Regions from separate parts of the Homo sapiens genome. Here regions 1 and 3 are each linked to region 2. Evidence: promoter capture Hi-C in 16 types of primary human blood cells and fetal thymus (Javierre and others, 2016). All regions are on one chromosome and are shown on one strand. The core of a region is centred on a gene start or on the middle of the fragment in contact, and the rest is flanking DNA. Distances in the headings are between cores, read along the strand shown. Region 1 holds the start of DEPTOR (DEP domain containing MTOR interacting protein). Region 2 holds the start of UTP23 (UTP23 small subunit processome component). Region 3 holds the start of TAF2 (TATA-box binding protein associated factor 2).

Region 1 (2,951 bases), core at 382-2,881, 3.1 Mb before region 2:
AAACTTACACCACTATCCATCATCTACCCAACTCCTATAAAACAACCCCTTCCCCATCTCCCTTTGCTGACTCCGTTTTTAGACTCAGTCCACCTGCACCCAGGTGATTAAAAAGCTTTATTGCTCACACAAAACTTGTTCGGTGGTCTCTTCACACGGGCACCGCGTGACAGGTTTCATTAGAAAGTACTTTTGATGAAGGAAAAAAAGTTTTTATTCCCTTTAATTCTGACCACGTATTTTTAAAAATCAACAAAGAATCGATAGGTGCAATTTGCCTTTTGTAACATTAAAAATCAGTTAATTCTGACTTCCAATATTGGTCTCCTTCAGAGACCTTTGCAAGACACTCTTTCAGGTCCTGAAACACAGACATTTAGAAACCAAAACAAGCTGGGGAATTCAGGCTAAGAACTAGAAGTAACAGGGGCCCGCGTACAAGTTGTGGCTCAAACGCTGCAGAGCTGGGTTTTCTTTTTCCTGGCAAACTGATTTATAACCACACGAAGGGCAGCTGCAGAACCAGTTAGACCATAAGTACTATTCCCAAACAGCCCTAGAGGAAGGACCATACAGGGATGGGAATGGCAAGGGGGATTCTGGGGGTCGTCCTTGTTCCCAAGTTCCGTGAGACGCCGCAAGTCTTAATTCTTGCAGGAGCCAGGGTCCCCATGGATCCTGCTGCCCAAAACGTGCGAGCCCGGGGAGTTGGCACAGCCTCAAGGCAGCCCGACAAGGTGCCTCCACGCCCCCTTGCGGACCCAAATGATTGAGGACGATGTGCCAATTAACTGATAGGTGCAGGGTTTCAGAAATGCTCTCTCAGTTTAACCTCACAAAAAGCCCTTGAATCAGCCCTGTTTTACAGATGTAAAACACCGAGGCTCAGGGGAGTGAAGGAAGACTTGTCAGCAAAAAGGAAAACCTAGTGAAGACTATCGTTGGTCTTGCTCCTTTTATCAAGGAGTAGAGGGGCTGGGGTCGCCTCGGGACCCCACAGCGACCCCTCTTGCTCTCTTCGCGGATGAGGCGCAGGCTGTCAGCCGGGAGGCCTGGCGGCGTCCAGGTACACGGGAAGACGGACAGCGCGGTGGGTGGCAGGGACTTTGCCCGGCACAGGACTGCAGCAGCCAGGCTAGGGCGCAGCGCGCACCACCCGCTCGTCGGCTTCTGCCAGGCAGCCCCGCTTGGCGAGCGAGTCCTCAGGGACCGAGGCTGCAGCAGCTAAGCGCGGGCGCACCGAGGACCATCCACGCGCCCGCAGCCGTTCCGGCGCCCCACGCGAGTCGCAAGCCACGAGCCAGGGAGCGCGTGCGCGCAGGACTGCAGCGGGCACGCGTTGGCAGTGCCATCGTGAGCTCACCCGCTGTGTCTCTTGCCTTACCGTAGCTGTTCCCCGGTGACCAAGACCTCAGCCATGCGCTCCAGCTCCCTTTGCTGCGCCCCGCCACTCCCGCTGGTGCTGCTGTCACTGCCAGCACTGCCAGTGCTGCCGCCCTCCTCCATGGTTTTAGGGCCGTGCGGCTACCACTGGCTCCGCTGTCCGCCGAGGGTTTGGGTGCTCGGATCAGTCTGCCCTCACAGACGCTTCCCGCGCCATCTTTGTTCGGGGCAGCTCCGCTGCTCTGACTGGATTGGCTGGAGAGGGAATCCCTATGGGTAGGCAGACGCGCTGGGCTAGTCCGGCCCCAGAAACTTGAGCTTGGGGGCGTGGCTAGAGCCCCTCATGGTCGGGGGGCGGGGCCGATGGAGGAAAATATAAACATCTGGGCGGGGCGCTGCTACTGAGCTGTGTGTGCTGCTGGAGGCTGAATTTGGTGAGCTCTCTTTACCCACAAAGCTCATGCTGTAGAATCCTGGGGACAGGCCTGGAGGTTATTAGTGTGAAGGCGTTTTTATTGTACGTTCCACACCCCAAGTTGCCAGAGAGCAAAACATAATTCAACAATCTGGCCAAATGGTCAACAGTGAAGGTTATACATGTCATTGAAGGGCATGGAGAAATTAAACATTCTTCTCTCCCCAACCTCTCTCTCCAAAGACGACTTGTTTGCCTTATGTTGTAATCAATAAGGAACGCCGGCCTAGGAATCAGGCTGACCTGGGATCCAGCTCCGCTCCTGTGATGTCCTATTTAAATGTGTTTAATCCTCCCTTACAAAATAAAAATAATTGCGGCTACCACTTTTGACATCTGCTGCATTAAAGATACTTCAGGTATGGTATTACCTCGTTTAATTATTACAATAATTCATAAAATAGGTATTGGTGTTCGTTTTGCATTAGAATGCAGGCTTGGAGAGGTGAAGTTACTTGTCTAAGGCAAGCAAATAATAAGTATAAGAAGAGCCGGGCACCGTGGCTCATGCCTGTAATCCCAGCACTTTGGGAGGCCGAGGCGGGCAGATCACCTGAGGTCAGGAGTTCCAGACCAGCCTGACCAACATGAAGAAACCCCGTCTCTACTAAAAATACAAAATTAGCCGGGCGTGGTGGTGCATGCCTGTAATCCTAGCTACTTCGGAGGCTGAGGCAGGAGAATCGCTCGAACCCGGGAGGCGGAGGTTGCTGTAAGCCGAGTTCGGGTGAGCGGAGTTAGTGCCATTGCATTCCAGCCTGGGCAACAAGAGCGAGACTCCGTCTCAAATCATCATAATAATAATAAGAAGAAATCTAACCGAGGCAATTCTGGCTTCAAAGTTATGCTTTGAAAAGACTGAAAGACTGCCTCTTAAAATGGGGATACAATGGTATTGTCTATCCGTAAAAGATTATGAAAAGAAATTTGATTAGTACCAAATAAATGTTCTGATTTTCTGTTTCATGCAGAGTCGGAGTTGGTCTGCAGGAAGGCGAAGTAATGTTTATGGCAGTATTCATGTGTGTTGAGCATTTATTCTGTGCTTTACATTGTGCCAAACACTTTATCCTCACAAAACCCTGGAGTTTGG
Region 2 (3,145 bases), core at 480-2,979:
ACTGAAGGATTTGTTAGACAGCCCTAAAGACTAAGGGGATCAAAACTTTGGGGGTATCTGTAACCCAGCCGAGACCCTGCTTGAGAAATTCTGAACAAATACAGATAGCTGTTCATTAAGTAATCGTATGTGAGGAAAAGGAGACTATTAACACAGTATACACAGAAAAAGCCCATACTTTGTTATGGCTGTAGTTAGAGATGGGGGTTTCCTACGTTGCTCAGGCTCACCTCAAACTCCTAGACTCAGGCAACCCTCCTGTCTCAGCCTCCTGTGTAGCTACTAGGATTACAAGTGTGAGCCACCTTGCCTGGCTTAAAAGTCCATTCTTGTGCTTGTGTGAGTGTGTATAAAGAACTGGATGGATGACACTGCACATGTTAACAGTGATTATTCGTGAGTAGTGGTATTATGAGTCATTTTAATTTTCTTTTTTTGCTTTTTAAAAGTAAATATTCTACAATGAAAAAACTACTAAATTTCTTAATAGTTCTTCATGGCCTAGCCTCAATTTGCCTTCTTCCTAGTTTCACTCCCAAATATATTCTGTGCTGCAACCTCTTTCCCAGGCATTTCATAACTCCATTTCGTGTGAAGAGGTCTCCACAACAAGAAGTGTCATTCTTTTCTGTCATTCAAAATAGTTCTTCCTCTCAGAACTGAACAAGTGAATGGGCTCAAATGTTATCTGAAATCTGTCACAATTCTCTCCTCTCTCCTCTTCATCCCGACAAGCTTCCATCCTAAGTGTTCCCACATTTCAATGAAGTGGGGAAACATCAGACCTAGAGTGAAAACACACACTGCAGACTGACTTATGCACTTTACTGGCCATGAGGGAGCAGTATGTGGCATATAGGAGGTACTTAATAAAGCGAGTTGAATAAACAAATGTGCTTGGGCAGATTCCTTAATCTCAAGTACTGACTTTTTGCCCTGGACATCAAAGATGGTAACTCACAGGTTCACTGTGAGGCTTGCAGAGTTTTGGTTTAAACTAAGAAAAGCTATGCAAATGACAGCAACCATTTGAAGACGGGTACACTTTGGATACCGAAAAATGCTCTAGTACACTATACTCGTTTGAGCTTACAGCAATCTTCTAAGCAGTTATCATCTTTATTTTACAAATGAGGAATCCGAGGCTCAGAGAGGCTAAATAACTTGACAGAAATCACAGAGCTGGTAGAACTGGGATCAAGATTCGAAGTCGGATCTCTCTGCTATAATGTGCTCTCATTCGCCAGGCTAACGACACGTGATATTCACAGGGCACTGTCCAATCTGCCTCTATTATAGGTATTCGCCTGACCACCTTCACCTCTCCACTTAACTGTCAACTCCACGTGGGCGGGGCGTTTTGCACCTCCTGAGCTCGCAATGAAGGTCTGTGAGCAACGGCCTCGCCTCTACAACACCCGACGGACCCTCTGTGCCTCCTCCCCAGCCCCCCGGGCCCACCTTGTGGTGCACAGCTGCGTCTCCCCCATGAGGTAGCGGGGCAGCTGCTCCCGCAGCTGGATGCGGCCCCGCAGCGCCGCCTGACAGAAGGTGCCGTCCAGCAGGATCTGGTACGGCTCGCGGACTCCGAAGTTGTTGCGGAAGAAGCCAAGATGCTTCTTGGCATGTTTCTGCCTTGTGATCTTCATGCCTGGCTTACCGGGACCGAGGCCACCGGACCAGGAAGCATCAGTAAACGCCTCACGCACGCCCCAGTACCCTCAATGCCAGTTTCACCCGGAAATGAAGCGCCTTTGGCCACGGAAGCAAACGCCTCTGTCTTCCGGGCCTGCCCATTGGTTTACGTCATGTCCAGACCAGCGCGCGCTTCCACCGCAGTGCCCGCGCTTAAAGGGGCGGTCCCTTAGGGCGGAACTTGTGCGTACGCTGGAAAACCGCTGGGGTGCGCGATTCCGCACGGGGGCGCACATGCGCAGTCTGGGGCCACGGTAAAAGAAAATTACGAGAATACATTTAGCGTGTTACCTACGTTTTAGAGGCGCGTAGCAAGAGCTTCTCTGAAAGACTGGCAGTATAGTAGTAGTCAGTGATAATATTGAGCCTTAATATGTTCCAGACACTGTCCTAAGTGATTTACCTTACATTATTCCCCTGAATGTTTATAATTCCCAAGTGAAAGAAGGAAATGATATATTGGATAGCTATGAGTGGGGAGGTTTGTACTGGCTGCTTTCCCATAAAGAAATTAAGCACGTTCACGAAGGGCACGTAGTTTGTTAGTGTCTGGAACCCAGTTTTCGTGCCTGAAGTTCAAATGTTCTTGCTACACCACCATAGAAACTAACGTCACTCAGGAACCATTTGTCAGGGCAAAGGGTGCCACCATTTTGCATTTCCTCCTGCCTTAGGACCATCCTAAATCACTCGCATGGAGTGTTTTGGAAGAACTCTCAAGAGCTTCGTTTGCCTAGAGTCAGAATTCCTAACCTTGAGTCCTGGTTTTGCCACAAACCCAAGCCGTTTGATCTTGGGCAACTCCCGAAGAAAGCTGGGTTCAACTTCCTCACTGTCAAACTGGTTGTAGGTCTAGATAAGTTTCAAGTACTCTTTTTATGTGCATGGTCTCTGACATAGGAAGACTACATACTGGGCCAGTAACAGGAAGGCACAAAGCTGACTGGAGGTTTAAAAATTACTTGGTCAATTTGATTAATGAGGAGAATGAATCAGAAAATTTCAAGTTCTCCCGTGGCTAACTGTCGAGTATCCACTTCAAGGTAAAATAATCAAAGAATGGGGAGTATGGAATTTTGCATTTTTGTCCTTGCCTGGAATCTGTCCCAGATCTAGTTTTGGCTAAAGATTGAAAGAACCAGCACAGAAAATGATTTACAACGTGATTGAATGCATTGTTTGCATTTGGGGTTTTATTTCAATATGTAGGTTTATGAAATTGGAATAAGATCTATAATGTTAGCCCTGATCTGAGTCCCAGCACATCACTTAGATGGTTGCTTTCATTTAAACTTAAAATGAATTTAGGAATTGGAAGCCATGAAAACTTTTGCAGGGTTGGATTCAAGGTCTTTGAGTGTAATTGCTCAGTACTTTTCAATTTGAATCCTCTTTTTATCCCTGTATGCCAACTCTCTACTCCAACTATGCGCCCACCACAGACAGAGAA
Region 3 (2,700 bases), core at 50-2,549, 3.1 Mb before region 2:
GGGGTAGGCCGAGGTTAAATGGTCCACGTTTCAAAAATGTTAATGGCTAATCCATAATTAAAGAAGGTTTAACTGTTACTGAAGTTTACAAGTTTTATTGTCATGAACATGAAATACAAACACGATGGCTTCGAAATGTCTTTCAATAAATGTTTCTGCATTTATATGGATTATATGATATATATACACAGTCTATATATCTCTATGTAGTCTATTTATTTATTTTGAGAGGGAGTCTCGCTTTGTCTCCCAGACTGGAGTGCAATGGCATGATCTCAGCTCACTGCAAACTCGGCTTCCCGAGTTCAGGTGATTCTGGTGCCTCACCCTCCCGAGTGGCTGGGAATACAGGCGCACGCCACGACGCAGGGCTAATTTTTGTATTTTTACTAGAGACGGGCTTTCACCATGTTGGCCAGGCTGGTCTTGAACTGCTGACCTCAAGTGATATGACTGCCTCAGTTTCCCTAAGTGCTAGGATTACAGGCGTGAGCCACCACGCCTGGCCTGTAGTCTATATTTTATTCTTTTTTTTTTTTTCTGAGACAGTCTCAGCTCTGTCGCCCAGGCTGGAGTGCAGTGGAACGATCTCAGCTCGCTGCAACTTCCGTCTCCCAGGTTCAAGCAATTCTCCTGCCCCAGCCTCCCAAGTAGCTGGGATTACAGGCGTGCACCACCACGCCCAGCTAATTTTGTGTAATTTTTAGTAGAGACGGGGTTTCACCATGTTGGTCAGGCTGGTCTCGAACTCCTGACCTCAAATGATCGGCCCGCCTCGGCCTCCCAAAGTGTTGGGATTACAGGAGTGAGCCACTGCGCCCGGCCTTGTAATCTATATTTTAAAATAAATACTAAGGCAGCAGTGCCTAGTGAGAGCTGTGGAGTGCTGCAGTTTTGACATTTAGACTACCTGCAGTCTAATCACATATTTTACAGCTTAAATCACCGGACCCAGTGTGTCTGTTCACACAGCAAGCCAGAGGCACGCACCTCCTGATTTCGGGAGACTTCCCACCACCCCACCCCGCCCAGTTACTAGCACCCTGCCCCAGCCTATTTATACCTGGCTCTTCGCAAACTTTGTCCTCCATTCTTCTCAATATGCTTGTACTAGAAAACTACCTTCCCTCCTTTTCTTCCTGCTGTTCTCGCTTCATCCATTAAATAGTTTTTTCCCTATCCTAAATTTTAACAATTCTTTACGATAAGACACATGCGAAGATCGCAAGCCCTGCCCATTGACAAGACTTCCTGGTTCTACCCCCGCCGCCGTTCCACTTCCGCTGACGTCGGAGGTCAGAGGTTACAGACAAGATGTCGGCGGATGGTAGCTTCGAGCCCTTGCGGAGAGGAGCATCTCTGTGACAGAAGCTTGTCGACGGCGGCTTCTAGGAGCTAGTCGAAGGAGCGAGGTTGAGGCGGGCAGCGACCCGTCAGGTCGCTCACCTGGGCACCGGCCAGCTGCGAGACGTGACTTGGGGACCGCAGGGGAGTGGAGAGTGTGAGGTGCCAAAGACTAGTAATGCCCCGTATCCCCCTAGGAAGCCGGGAAGCCAAGCTCCGCGGGACCGCTTCATGCCGCTGACTGGTGTAGAGCCCGCCAGAATGAACAGGAAGAAAGGAGACAAGGGCTTTGAAAGCCCAAGGCCATATAAATTATAAGTATTTTTTCATTTCCCTTCCTTCCTTTTGGTTTTGTTGCCATTAATTATATTTTGCGATTGCTTGAAATTGACTTGGTGGGCCTGGGAAACCTAGTGGGAAACTAGAATTTACTCACTGTGATGGAAATGGTGTTTGTAAGGTAAAAATGTTTTGAATGACAGGTTATTCAGCAAATTTAATTCCCGTTGCAAGTTACTAAAGTTTTTGTCTAAGTACTAGATTGTATTTCTGTCAAATCTGTTTTCGTGACTGTTGCTAGATTTTAAAAAATTATCCCAATTGGTAGAGTGTTTTTTTTTTTTTAATTTTTTAATTTTTAAGACGGAGTCTCTCAGTCGCCCAGGCTGGAGTGCAACGGCGCGATCTCGGCTCACTGCAGCCTCCACCTGCCGGGTTCAAGCTTTTCTCCTGGCTCAGCCTCCTGAGTAGCCGGGATTACAGGCGTGTGCCACGATGCCCGGCTAACTTTTGTATTTTTAGTAGAGACTCGGTTTCACTCTGTTGGCCAGGCTGGTCTCGAACTCTTGACCTCGTGATCCGCTTGCCGTGGCCTCCCAAAGTGCTGGGATTACAGGCGTGAGCCACCGCACCAGGCCCCAATTCGTAGTTTTAAAATGAAATATTGACATGTAATTTTGAATTACTTAGAACATAGTCCTAATTTATACTTGGATAGAATTATACTTTGATTTAATAATAAAAATTATTTTTTCCTTATTTTCTTTTTATATTTATTAATATACAACCCATCAGGTCGTCTGCATCAACAACATAAATTTCCAGAGAAAATCTGTTGTGGTAAGTTTATTCTCAACAATTATAAATAGTAACAAGTCCACTATAAAGAGTAACAATCCACCCCTCACAGTACTTAGAAAGTTTGTAGTCTTCCAGATAATTGTGTTTCAAGAATAGGTAAGAATTAAAATTAGGGTCTGTATGATTACAAGTTCCATGGTCCTTCTATTAATACCTATTGCCTCCCAAATTCTCCCTTTCCTTTTTTTTCAATTTCCTAATTAAAATTTTATTCCT

The links. Contacts are between HindIII fragments. The CHiCAGO score rates a contact against its expected background, and 5 or more counts as called.
Region 1: the fragment with the promoter of DEPTOR here is called in contact with the fragment with the promoter of UTP23 in region 2 in 1 of 17 cell types (non-activated CD4 T cells); the score reaches 6.1 in non-activated CD4 T cells.
Region 3: a contact is called between the fragment with the promoter of TAF2 here and the fragment with the promoter of UTP23 in region 2, in 3 of 17 cell types (non-activated CD4 T cells, total B cells and total CD8 T cells). The highest score is 7.0, in non-activated CD4 T cells.

Annotation. Positions count from the first base shown.
Region 1 is chr8:119,872,402-119,875,352 of GRCh38, reverse strand. It overlaps DEPTOR (DEP domain containing MTOR interacting protein), which reads right to left and starts at 1,631. Exons shown (of 9, transcript NM_022783.4): 1 at 1,385-1,631. The coding sequence starts at 1,506. RefSeq lists enhancers at 894-943, 1,034-1,133, 768-1,268, 1,334-1,593, 1,269-1,769 and 1 more and a silencer at 1,613-1,785. The HindIII fragment of the contact is 2,864 bases long and covers 118-2,951 here.
Region 2 is chr8:116,765,108-116,768,252 of GRCh38, reverse strand. UTP23 (UTP23 small subunit processome component) reads right to left here and starts at 1,729. Exons shown (of 3, transcript NM_032334.3): 1 at 1,462-1,729. The coding sequence starts at 1,649. It also overlaps a transcript of EIF3H not described here. RefSeq lists enhancers at 1,343-1,652, 1,663-1,812. The HindIII fragment of the contact is 9,967 bases long and covers 738-3,145 here.
Region 3 is chr8:119,831,440-119,834,139 of GRCh38, reverse strand. It overlaps TAF2 (TATA-box binding protein associated factor 2), which reads left to right and starts at 1,299. Exons shown (of 26, transcript NM_003184.4): 1 at 1,299-1,658; 2 at 2,409-2,463. The coding sequence starts at 1,576. It overlaps DSCC1 (DNA replication and sister chromatid cohesion 1), which reads left to right. Exons shown (of 9, transcript NM_024094.3): 9 at 1-164. It overlaps LOC105375728 (a long non-coding RNA gene), which reads right to left and starts at 1,261. Exons shown (of 4, transcript XR_928590.3): 1 at 1,064-1,261. RefSeq lists enhancers at 1,178-1,537, 1,598-1,647. The HindIII fragment of the contact is 3,868 bases long and covers 1-1,373 here.